3 separate regions of the Homo sapiens genome follow, and all the other regions are linked to region 2. Evidence: promoter capture Hi-C in human tissues and cell types (Jung and others, 2019). All regions are on one chromosome and are shown on one strand. The core of a region is centred on a gene start or on the middle of the fragment in contact, and the rest is flanking DNA. Distances in the headings are between cores, read along the strand shown.

What was found. Contacts are between HindIII fragments. The study calls those that stand out against the background at their distance.
Region 1: a fragment that was not itself captured here is called in contact with the fragment with the promoter of ZMYND12 in region 2 in 1 of the 25 tissues and cell types used here (dorsolateral prefrontal cortex).
Region 3: a fragment that was not itself captured here is called in contact with the fragment with the promoter of ZMYND12 in region 2 in 1 of the 25 tissues and cell types used here (bladder).

Annotation. Positions count from the first base shown.
Region 1 is chr1:42,263,642-42,267,683 of GRCh38, forward strand. FOXJ3 (forkhead box J3) reads right to left here. Exons shown (of 13, transcript NM_014947.5): 4 at 1,474-1,548. Among named protein-coding and RNA genes, the nearest start is that of FOXJ3, 70 kb to the right of the region's middle. The HindIII fragment of the contact is 5,095 bases long and covers 1-4,042 here.
Region 2 is chr1:42,453,624-42,457,913 of GRCh38, forward strand. It overlaps ZMYND12 (zinc finger MYND-type containing 12), which reads right to left and starts at 2,399. Exons shown (of 8, transcript NM_032257.5): 1 at 2,265-2,399. The coding sequence starts at 2,374. It overlaps PPCS (phosphopantothenoylcysteine synthetase), which reads left to right and starts at 2,920. Exons shown (of 3, transcript NM_024664.4): 1 at 2,920-3,450; 2 at 3,624-3,727. The coding sequence starts at 2,943. It also overlaps a transcript of CCDC30 not described here. RefSeq lists enhancers at 2,521-2,750, 2,991-3,060, 3,151-3,270. The HindIII fragment of the contact is 5,227 bases long and covers 1-4,290 here.
Region 3 is chr1:42,295,200-42,299,389 of GRCh38, forward strand. All of the region lies in intron 2 of FOXJ3 (forkhead box J3), which reads right to left. Among named protein-coding and RNA genes, the nearest start is that of FOXJ3, 38 kb to the right of the region's middle. The HindIII fragment of the contact is 3,640 bases long and covers 490-4,129 here.

The sequences.
Region 1 (4,042 bases), core at 450-2,949, 190 kb before region 2:
GATGATAAAAAGTGCTATAAAATGTTCATTACTTCAGAAAAACTGCCTAAAGATAGAAACGAATAACTCTTCATCTCTAACTTCAAGAAGTTAACAGTCTAACAGAGGATACAGTATATTCATTCATTCAACAAGGGTGTCTCCTCAGTGCCATCAGCCACTGTGCAAGCAACTGGGTCTAAACAGTGAACAAGATACACATGAACCCTACTTGCATAAATTTAGATTTTAAGGGCAGTAGATAACTAACAAAGAGCTTGAAAAAAAGAGACCATATGAGTAGGTTAACTTTTTTTTTTTTTTTTTTTTTTTTTTTTGAAGATTGCTGCCTACTATGTGAAAGTTAATATAAACTGGAGGGATCGAGCCCAGCCATTGAGAGTCCAATTAGGAGCTACTACAATGATGACGGTCGCTACAAAATAAAAAGAACTCAAAAGAGGGAGCAACAAATTCAGCTGAAGTATGGGGAAACAAAAAAGCCTCAGAGAAGTCATGTTGCAGCTCAATACTGAAAGATAAGAAGCAGTCTAGACAAGTAAAGCAAGGAAATTTGTACAGAAGACCATATGAATAGCATGTTTGGAAAACTTCAAGTAGTTCTTCATGATGAGTCTTGAATGAGGTGAATTATAGCTAGAAAGGCAGATTGAGAAAAAAACAGTAAAGAATATTTTACAAGAAGAGAAAGTAAACACCTCCTGGACACTAAGGAATACTTTTAAGCAAGGTGCTTACATGACCAGGGTTACATTTTAGAAAGATTCTTCCAAAATCAGTTAGCCTAAAAACAAATATAAGAAGTCTAGCCACCTAAACAAGCATCGTGCTTCCCAATAAATACACTGTCTCAAAGTCCTAATCTAGTAACTTACCTTGACAACCAAATACAGTACAACCAAGTACTCTTAAGTTTCAGAGACCAAGCAACTAGGACCAAGTTCAGGTCACACTATAGTTGACTAGCTATTAAAACAACAAAAAAAGGGAGGAGTCACCATAGAAAAAACGCTAAAAACGTGAAAAATGCAGTGGTGTCAGGAGATAAGAAGAGTCAAGTACAGAATACTCTTCTTGATTACACTCAGAAATGGGCTAATAACAGAGAAACTGTTTTATTCCAGTGTAAGAATACTTCCACTTTTTGCCAGTTACACAGAGATGCACCCCTTATATGTAATAATGAATTATGGTTCCTGACAAGCAGCTCAATCACCAAATTTAATTTAATACACAATACTTCAACCAAAGATTAGATTAGAAACAGCAAAGTACAACAGCACTGTGGTGTGCAACAGCTATACACTAGTTAGGTTCCCACAGCTTAAAACTCTCTAACAAGCTTTAGAGCAGGGTGGGGGAGGACTTACTATTTTGCAGAGGTTCCTATTCAATGAACTGGAAAAGTTCTTAATTCAAACATGACAAGTGACATACTGAAGAATTCAACTGTTTTAAGAAGATGAATCCTACCTTTCCAGGGTCATCCTTAGATCGAGGCACTTTAAGGAAACATTTGTTCAATGACAGATTATGTCGTATGGAATTCTGGAATTAAAGAAGAAAAGCCATAAGGTCAATAAAATCCAAAAAACATAACCCAAATTTAAAAACAGAATTAGAAATCTAAACATCTTTATGCTTTGCAAAACAATTACAAATGGAATAAACTTTTTAATCAGCTTAAAATTTAAATCTTTCTGACTTTCAAATTATGAATGCTATGAGGGGAAGCTGTTACTGGAAAATAATTTCTAGAGGATTTCATAAAATGTAATATATGTAGCATTTTAAGTGCTTATGACTTTTATTGATACAGGAAGATGCCTGTAATGTAATGTTAAATATTAAATTCCAAATATAAAATTGGCATATTATGATACATATTATGACTTTAATTGTGGTACTTATTTTATTTATTTATTCTTGGAAATAAGCCAGAATGCAAAATGTAAGAAGTTACTCTACATGAAATTAAAGATGATGACTATTTTCTTCTCTTTACTTTTCTGCAAAGTCCAAATGGTCTGCAAGACACATGTATTACCACTTATTAATTAGTTTAAAAAATGCTTTAAAAAAACATTCACTGCTCTATTACAAAAAAACATATAGAACCCTATTAGGTTCTCACCACAATCTGTAAAAAAGAAAACCACATGGAAAGATACTGGCTACAGGGAGCTGGGAAGAACATCTAAATTCTTCATTGTAGCAGGGAAGAACACCCAAGGTGGGTAGCAGGAAAATGCCCTTGGAAACCTGCAGAGTCTGTGAAAAAGAAATTTGTTCATGAATAGGTAGGACTGTACCCCAATTCTTACAGAATATGCCCCAAAGTCCATTTCTTCTCAATTAAATGCTCCAAAACCCATTCTCAAATTATCTTGGTTTGTTCCCAAATGGCTAGTATTTGGGAGAGAAGAGGTCCAACTGCATTTAGCCATTACTTAGAATGGTACCTTCTGGGATCATATTTTGACATAATATCTGCTTTATTGTTTAATATAAAATTCAGTAGTCTAACAAGAATGCCTATAATAAAACTTATCTCCCTCAGGCACAATATTGGAATTTTAAACGTTTTTAAAAGATGACTACAGAATATAAATTCAAGACCATCTATTACCAAAGCAGAAATTTAAAACTTATGCTTGGGATGTAAACAGCTACAAAGAATGATGCTCTCTCCCAAAGAGAAAACCCTAGGTAAGCTTTAAAAAAAATAAACAAAAAAAACCTATTTTTAAGCCACATCAGAGAGCTCAGGTTGCAAGGCAACCAAACCACATTCCTAAGAGGAGCAAGGCTATTCAATGAGAAACTGGACACACAACTAAATCACCTTTGGCAGAGCACAGGAAAAAGAGATGGCCACCATCCAAGCAGTTAAAAAGAAATTAGCTAAAATTTTAAAGGCCAAGCGTGGGGCTGTCACTTTAGAGCAACAAGAACCCCAGACACGAGAAGTTCCCACACACTCTTAAGCTCTTCTCCATAGGTCTTTACCATGTGTTCCTAAGAAAAAATAGGGGTAGGAAAGGAGACCCAAGAAAGTCTCCCCTAGTGGCATAAACAGGAAGAAAGTGATTGACAGTGACAGGCAGTGAGGAGACAAAGCCCACCAACCTTCCATAGATTTTACAAAGCAAAAAAACAAGTTTGCAGTAAAGGCAGCAAAACCTGTCACCCATAGGACTCTGGCAAAGATTCACTGCTTCTGGGGGAAGAATGGAAACAAAACCCTGGTGCCTCTAGGAAGGGATAGGAAACCCTTACCCAGTACATAGGCAAAGATGTTCTGCTGCTGGAGGAAAAGTAGAAGCAAATCCCTTGAACTCTGGGAGAGGTATAGGAAACTACCTTGGGCCCAGGATCCTATACAGATACCATGTAGAGGTCTGCTACACCTGGAGAAGAGGCGCGAAACTCTCACCCAAAAGTAACTACAGATACACAAGACTAGTCTGGCTGAGGGAAGAAACACTGAAACAGCCCACCCTAAGTTCGAGGGTCTGCATAAGACTAAGGCTGGACCAACACAACAGAGAAAACTCCTTGCCTCTACCAAAAGCATACCACTGAATAACAAGCAAACACAGTCTACTGACAGAGAAGGGACGAGAAATCCCCATGTGTAAAAAGGTGGGCAGAGACAACTAAAATCTAAAGAGATGAAAAAACAAAAAAATCCTACCGCACCCTCTCCAAGCACAAATTAACAGGAGCCCACTGCTGGAGGAATGTAAAGTTTGTGGTATACTGAAGATAAAGACATAAATTTTAAAAAAATCCACATTACTGACAGACAGACTCAATCCCCACAAGAACGGCCTGAGAAAAAAGATGCTTGTCCATTCACAAGTACAAGTACTATTTAACTCAACGTCTACCATTCTTCTACACAGATATCTGGTCTCAGGCAACAATTATAAGACATAGAAAAGAAAGGAAAACTTACTGCCAAGAGATAAAATAATCAACAAAACCCAAGAGAAGACTCAGGTGTTAGAACTATCAGAAAAAAAAAATTAAAATAACC
Region 2 (4,290 bases), core at 1,149-3,648:
CTGGAGGGATACAGAGGACAGGGGTGTTTTAAGGAAAAAGTCAGTGCTCACACCAAGCAAAAGGATTGAATCTTTCCCAAGCCTGAGTGGCAGGTTTTACCCACGGCGGTTTACTGGCCATCTCTCTGGGGGTGACCCAAAGGCCTCTTAAACTCTATGCCTACAACCAAATCTGATGCCCGTCATCTTTTCCCCGTGTTCCTTGCCCAAGTTAATGGGTTTATTATCCATTTAGTTTTATTCAACAGATGTTCATTGAGTGTCTGGTATGTGTGGCCACTGGGTCTAGTAAAAGACATAGACATCAGACAAGCAAACACAATAATATAAAAGTACAGAAAAAGCAAAGAAAAATGGTACTGTGAGAGAGAAAAGTATGACGGGGAGTTGAGACTGGGTTTAGACCTCTTTGAAGAAATGACATTTAAACTGAGAACTGAAGGATGAAAGGGAGCCAGGAAGGCTTGTAGTTGAAGGGGAGGTTCCTAGCAGAGAGAACAGACTGGGAAAAGAAACTGAGGGAAGAAAGGGCTTAGCAAATTAGAACTTCAGTTCTCTATAACTACAGCAAAGAAAAAATGGGGTGAGTGTGGTGGGAAGTGAAGGTAGAGAAATAACCAGGGCCTTGTATTTTCTGTTACAAATTCTTAATTATATTCTAAAGGCAAGGAAGCCACCAAAGAGGAGATAGCAATGAAAACACAGATACCATCCCTGCCCTTGTGGGGCATACAGCCTAATGAAAGAAATAAATAAATGATTTCAGTCCATGTCCTAAGTGTTAGGATAGGGGACATACTCAGTGCTTTGAGAGCACTGAGGAAGGACACCTAGGCCAGTATGAGAAGGTACTGCAACAGCTTCTTGATCTGTTATGCAGCCGTCAGTGTCTACCTTCCTCTGTATCTGCCACACTGCAGCCCATCCTCTTTCCTTAACACAAATGAGAGCATGTCAGCTCAAAACCATTCATGGTTTCCCAGGAGATAAATTCCAAACCCTTGATCTCATGTCACTGTCTAGCCCTAACCTTTATCTTCTTGGTTTAAACTTCTACTACCTATCACAATGATGTTCCAACTTTTTTTTTTTTTTTTGAGACACAGTTTCACTCTTGTTGCCCAAGCTGGAGTGCAATGGAGCGATCTCGGCTCACTGCAACCTCCGCCTCCCGGGTTCAAACGATTCTCCTGCTTCAGCCTCCCGAGTAGCTAGGATTACAGGTGCACGCCACCACATCCGGCTAATTTTGACTCAACCTATAGTAAGAAATACATTTTTCCTGTACACACACACATGTCCACATAAAACACTAAGACAAAAGTTTTAAGAAACAATTCAGGTAGGATTAACCTGATACTTTCTACTCATTCTGTGCTCTTTTTTGTTGTTGTTGTTTTCTCTAAATGGTGATTGTGACTTATTCATAAACTGCTAAAGGGCCCTGGCCTGCAGTTTGAAAATCACTGACTGCTCCCTCCACTACTACGTTCTCCACTCGGCCCTTAGCAAACTCTGTTCTTTTGCCATTTGCCCTAGCAGTCCCGGATGCCGGGAATGCCCTACCCTTCTTCACTACTCCTGTACACAGCAGGTTCTGACTGCCCTCTCAAAATGCAGCTCAAATGTTTCTTCCACAGGGAAAGCTTTCCACATACTGCCCCATTCACTATCGTCTCACTCTCGTTGCCCAAGCTGGAGTGCAGTGGCGCGATCTCCGCTCACTGCGAGCTCCGCCTCCCGGGTTCAAGCGATTCTTCTGCTTCAGCCTCCCGAGTAGCTGGGATTACAGGCGCCCAGCACCACTCCCGCCTAATTTTTGTATTTTTTAGTAGAGACAGGGTTTCACCATGTTGGCCAGGCTGGTCTCGAACTCCTGACCTCAGGCGATCCGCCCGCCTCGGCCTCCCGAAGTGCTGGGATTACAGGCGTGAGCCACCGCGCCCGGCCTGTTTCTTTACTGATTTGTCTCCCACATTGGAATGTTAGATCTTTGAAGGAACTGATCTACCGAGCTGCCCCAGTAACTTTAGCACCTAAAATAGTGCATAACACAGAGTACGCCTTCAGAAAACATGAGTGACGAATAAGTGGGAGATGAGACAGACGAGGCCACGGGAGTCTTAGGGGCCTGTCTTAAAGCCGTTTTGAGGTGTCCCTTGCAGAGTCAGGGGCAACGGCTAACGCAAGGTACCCAAGCCAGACCCGGGAAAGGGAGAGAGGGAGGGAGTTATAGCGCCCAGGTGCCACGTTTCAGGGCCTACCAGTAATAAGTGACTGTGCAGGCCGCGCACACCCGCTCGGCTGGGGCTTCGCACACCTCACAGCAGAGTCTGCGCCCCTTGGGGACTGCCAGTGGGTAGATCACATTCATGGTGCAGCCAGCAGTGCTGGTCTCTAAGACGGTTGCCCAGCAAGGATACGCTGAACCCCGGCGTCACGTGACGATCGCGGGGCTGCGTACTTGCCAGCATTTCAAGGGCAGAGGGCGGCGGGACGTGACTCGACTAACATCTGGGTGTATTGCTGAAGTTGGAAAAGGGGAAGAAAGAAAGAAAAAGCAGCACAAAACCCACAAGTCCCACGGGTCAAATGGCCGAGAAACGACTCCCAAGGAGTCCAAGTCCAGAAAGGCCCGTACAGTGGCCGGTAAGGGTCAAACATGGCCAGTTCTTCACCCAGGCTAGGAAACGAACGTGAGGGAACGTGACCCTACCAGATGCCCACCCAGCCGGGGATCCCCCTCGTTGCAGTGTCACTTTCGCTGGGCTCTGGGGCAGAACAACTACGCATTTCCAGACTTGGCGAGATCGGGACCTAGTGTCAAAAGAAGGGTAGTGAACCGCCCACTCAGTACGGCGCGGCGCGTACACCAGGTAGGCGAGAAGGGGCGTGGCGCGGCGGCCGCGAAACGTGCGCAGGCGCCGGCCGCTGCGCTGCAGATGGCGGAAATGGATCCGGTAGCCGAGTTCCCCCAGCCTCCCGGTGCTGCGCGCTGGGCTGAGGTTATGGCTCGCTTCGCGGCCAGGCTGGGCGCGCAGGGCCGGCGGGTGGTGTTGGTTACGTCAGGCGGCACCAAGGTCCCACTGGAAGCGCGGCCGGTGCGCTTCCTGGACAACTTCAGCAGCGGGCGGCGCGGTGCAACCTCGGCCGAGGCCTTCCTAGCCGCCGGCTACGGGGTCCTGTTCTTGTATCGCGCTCGCTCTGCCTTCCCCTATGCCCACCGCTTCCCACCCCAGACTTGGCTGTCCGCTCTGCGGCCTTCGGGCCCAGCCCTTTCGGGCTTGCTGAGCCTGGAGGCCGAGGAGAATGCACTTCCGGGTTTTGCTGAGGCTCTGAGGAGCTACCAGGAGGCTGCGGCTGCAGGCACCTTCCTGGCAGTAGAGTTCACCACTTTGGCGGACTATTTGCATCTGTTGCAGGCTGCGGCCCAGGCACTCAATCCGCTAGGTGCGTGCCCTAGGAGTACCCCTTTTGCCTGGAAGCACAGCCTTTCTTTCCAGCCACTTATCCCCTTACCTCCTGCTTACCCACGGATCTCAGCTGGGGAACCCGAGTTGAGAAGGAGCTGATCCTATATCGTACCTCGCCGATTTGTTAACACCTTGTGTTTCTCTTTGCAGGCCCTTCTGCGATGTTTTACCTGGCTGCGGCTGTGTCAGATTTCTATGTTCCTGTCTCTGAAATGCCTGAACACAAGATCCAGTCATCTGGGGGCCCACTGCAGGTGATGGGCGCTTCTCTTCCAGAGATCTAATCCCATATAACCAATCTTGGGTTAATTTCCTCTTGATCTGGAGATGGCCTTTCTGCATCTGTATTCGCTAGGCACAGGGGATACAGAGATGAATAAGACACCGCCCTCCCTCATGGACCTCACAATCTAGTGAGGGAGCTGGACACAGACATAATTACAATACAGAGTGATAAATGCTCTAGTGGAGGTATGTACAAAGTGCAGTCAGATCATGGGGCGAGTGAATCCTGGGGGAGTCGATGAAGCTTCTTGGAGGAGATGAATTGAACTGGGTTTTAAAAGATGAGCAGAACCGAGCGCGGTGGCTCACGCCTGTAATCCCAGCACTTTGGGAGGCCAAGGAGGGCAGATCGCCTGAGGTCAGGAGTTCGAGACCAGCCTGGCCAACATGGTGAAACCCCGTCTCTACTAAAAAAATACAAAAATTAGCCGGGCGTGGTGGCAGGCGCCTGTAATCCCAGCTACTCGGGAGGCTGAGGCAGAAGAATCGCTTGAAACCAGGAGGCGGAGGTTGCAGTGAGCTGAGATCTCGC
Region 3 (4,190 bases), core at 1,060-3,559, 160 kb before region 2:
CTCATCCTCCTCCCACCCTCCCCCCGGTGGACTCTTCAGTGTCTATTATTTCCATCTTTATGTACATGCATACCTATTATTTAGCTTCCACTTATAAGTGAGAACATGTGGTATTTGATTTTGTTTCTGAGTTATTTCACTTAGGATAATAACCTCCAACTCCATGTTGCTGAAAAGTACATGATTTCATTCTTTTCTATGCTGCATAGTACTCCATGGTATCTGTATACTACACTTTATTCAGTCAACTGCTGATGAACAGTTAGGTTGCTTCCATGACTTTGCTGTTATGAATAGTGTTGAACATGACTACAAGTGTCTTTTTTTTTTTTTTTTTTTTTTTTGGTGAGACACAGTCTCACTCTGTCCCCCAGGCTGGAATGCAGTGGCGCAATCTTGGCTCACTGCAACCTCTGCCTTGCAGGTTCAAGCGATTCTCCTGCCTCTGCCTCTCAATTAGCTGGGATTACAGGTGTGCACCACCTTGTCTGAGTGATTTTTCTATTTTTAGTAGAGACAAGGTTTCACGATGTTGGCCAGGCTGGTCTTGACTCCTGACCTCAGGTGATCCGCTGCCTTGGCCTCCCAAACTGCTGGAATTACAGGCATGACCCACCGCACCTGTCCAGGTGTCTTTTGTATATAGTGATTTATTTTATTTTGGGCAGATACCCCCAGTAGTGTGTTTACTGGATCAAAAGGTAGTTCTATTTTTAGTTCTTTGAGAAATCTCCATAGTTTTCCACAGAGGTTGAACATTCCCGTCAGCAGTGCGTAAGCACTGCCTTTTCTCCACAACCACACCAACATCTGTTATTTTTTGGCTTTTTAACAGCAATTCTGACTGGTATAAGATGGTATCTCATTGTGATTTTAATTTGCATTTCTCTGATGATTAGTAATGTTGAGTATTTTTTTCAAGTGTTTGTTGGCACTTGTATTTCTTCAAGAAATGTCTCATGTCCTCTGCCTAGTTTTTAAAAGAAGCTGTTTTTTCCCCGTTATTAGAGTTCCGTGTAGATTCTGATGTTCATCCTTTCTGAAAGTAATCATTTGCAAACATTTTCTCCCATTCTATAGGCTGTTTAATCTGTTGAGTATTTCTTTTGCTGTGAAGCTTTAGTTTAATTAAGTCTCATTTGTCTATTTTTGTCTTCCTCATAAATTCTTCGCCTAGGCCAACATCCAAGAGTTCTTCCTAAGTTTTCTTCTAGGACTTTTATAGTTTAAGGTCTTATGTTCAAGTCTTTAATCCATCCGTCCTGAGTTAATTTTCATACATGGTGAGACACAAGGGTCCAGTTTCCTTCTTTTGCATATGGCTAGCCAATATCCCAGCACCATCTATTGAATAGAGTGTTAATGTCCTTTCTCCACTGTTTATTTTCATCAACTTTGTCAAAGATCAGTTGGTTGTAGGTATGTGGCTTTATTTCTAGGCTCTCTATTCTGTTCCACTGATCTCTATGCATATTTTTGTACCACTATCATGCTGCTTTAGTTACTATAGCCTTGTAGTATAATTTGAAGTCAGGCAATCTGATGCCTCTGAATTTGTTCCTTTTGCTTAGGATCGCTCTGGCTGAGTGCTTTTTTGATTCCATATGCACTCCAGTGCTGTTTTTCTAATTCTGTGAAAACTGATGTTAGTAATTTGAAAGGAATTTCATTGAATCTGTAGATTGCTTTGAATAGTATGGTCATTTTTGTGATATTGATTCTTCCAATCCAACAGCACAAAATGTTTTGCCATTTGTTTGTGTCATCTGCAATTTCTTCCATTGGTGTTATATAGTTCTCCTCGTAAAGATCTTTCACCTCCTTGGTTAAATGTATTCCTAGGGGTGTGCGGGTGTGGGTGTGTGTGTGTGTCTACTGTAAATGGGATTGGGTTCTTGATTTGGTTATCAGCTTCAAAGTTATTTATAGAAATGCTACTGATCATTGTACATTGATTTTGTATCCTGAAACTTCAACGAAGTCTAGGAGTCTTTAGACTTTTCTAAGTATACAGTCATGTTATCAGGAAACTTCCTCTTTTCCAATTTGGATGCCTTTTATTTCTTTCTCTTGCCTAATTGCTCTGGCTAGGATTTCCAGTACTATGTTGAACAAGAGTGGTGAGAGTGGACATCCTTGTCTTGTTCCTGTTCTTAAGGAGAATGTTTTCAACTTCTCCCTTTCAACATGATGTTGTCTGTAGGTTTGTCATATATAGCTATTATTTTAAGGTACATACCTCCAGTGCCTAGTTTATTGAGGGTTGTTATGAAGCGATGTTGGATTTTATCAAATCACTTTTCTGCATCTATGGAGATAATCATACAGTTTTGGGGTTTGGTTCTATTTATGTGGTGAATCATGTTTATTGATTTGCATATGCTTAAACATTCTTGCATCCCTGGAATAAAACCCACTTGATCATGATTTATTATCTTTTTGATGTGCTGTCGGATTCAGCATTTGTTGAGGATTTTTGCACCTATGTTCATTAGGGATATTGGCCTGTGGTTTTCTTTTCTGGTTGTGTCCTTGCCTGACTTTGGTATCTGGTGTCCTCACCTGACTTTGATACTGGTGTCCTCACCTGACTTTGATACTGGTTTTGTAGAATGAGTTAGAAAGGAATTACTCCTCCTCAATTTTCTGAAATAGTTTCAGTATTCTTTCCTAAATACCAGCTTTTCTTTATATGTCTGGCAAAATTCAGCTACAAATCTATCTGGTCCTGGCCTTTTTTATTGTTAGAAGGTAATAAGGTTTGGCTGTGTCCCTACCCAAATCTCACCTCGTAGTTCCCCTAACTCCCATGTGTCATGGGAGGGTTCAGTGGCAGGTAATTGAATCATGGGGGCAGTTACCCTCATACTGTTCTCTTGATAGTAAGTTCTCACGAGATCTGATGGTTTTACAAGGGGCTTCCCTCCACTTTGCTCAGCACTTCTCCTTCCTGCCGCCATGTGAAGAACATGTCTGCTTCCCCTTCTGCCATGATTATAAGCTTCCTGAGGCTTCCCCAGCCCTGTGGAACTGTGAGTCAACTAAACCTCTTTCCTTTATAAATTACCCAGTCTCAGGTAGTTCTTTATATCAGCATGAGAACAGACTAATACAGAAGTTTTCCTTTATTACTGATTGAATTTTGTTACTTGTTATTGGTCTGTTCAGGATTCACATTTCTTCCTGGTTCAATCTTGCGAGGTTGTATCTTTCCAGGAATTTGTGCATTTCCCCCAGCTATTTCTAGTTTATGAGCACAGAAATGTTCACAGCAGTCTCTGATGATCTTTTGTATTTCTGTGGTGTCAGGTGTAATGCTGTCTTTATCATTTCTGCTTATATTTAAAACTTTTTTTTTTCTTGGTTAACTTAGCTAGCAGGCTGTCAATTTTGTGTATCCTTTCAAAGAACCAACTTTTTGTTTCACTTATCCTTTGTATCATTTTTTTATCTCATTTAGGTCTGCTCTGATCTTTGCTCTTTTCTTCTGCTAGCTTTTTGTGTGGTTTGTTATTTTTCTAGTTCCTTGATGTATGGTGGTAGCTTGAGATCTTCCTATCTTTTTAATGTGGGCATTTAACGCTATAAACTTTCCTCTTAGCACTGTCTTTGCTGTATCCCAGAGGTTTTAGTATGCTGTGTCTCCATTTTCATTTATTTCAAAATTGTTTTCAATTTCCGCCTTAATTGCATGTTTACCCAAAGTTCATTCAGGAGCATGTTGTTTAGTTTCCATCTACTTGAATAGTTTTAAGAGTCCCTCTTGGTATTTGATTTCTAATTTTATTCCACTGTGCTCCAAAAAGATACTTGATCTGATTTCAGTATTTTGGAATGTATTGAGACTTGCTTTAATGGCCAAGCATATGGTCAATTTTGGAGAATGTTCCACGTGCAGATGAGATTAATGTATGTTCTATAAATGTCTATTAGGTCCATCTGGTCTACAGTTTAGGTCCAGAATTTTTCGAATTTCTGCCTCAGTGATCTGAATAGTGATGTCAGTGAGGTGTTGATGTTCTCCACTATTATTGTATTGCTATCAATCTGTTTGCTTTGGCCTAGCAGTATTTATGAATCTGGGTGCTCTGGTGTGGAGTGCATATATATTTAGGATAGTTAAATCTTCTTGTTGTATCAAACCCTTTATCATTATATAATGCTCATCTTTTTTTTTTTTTACTGTTATT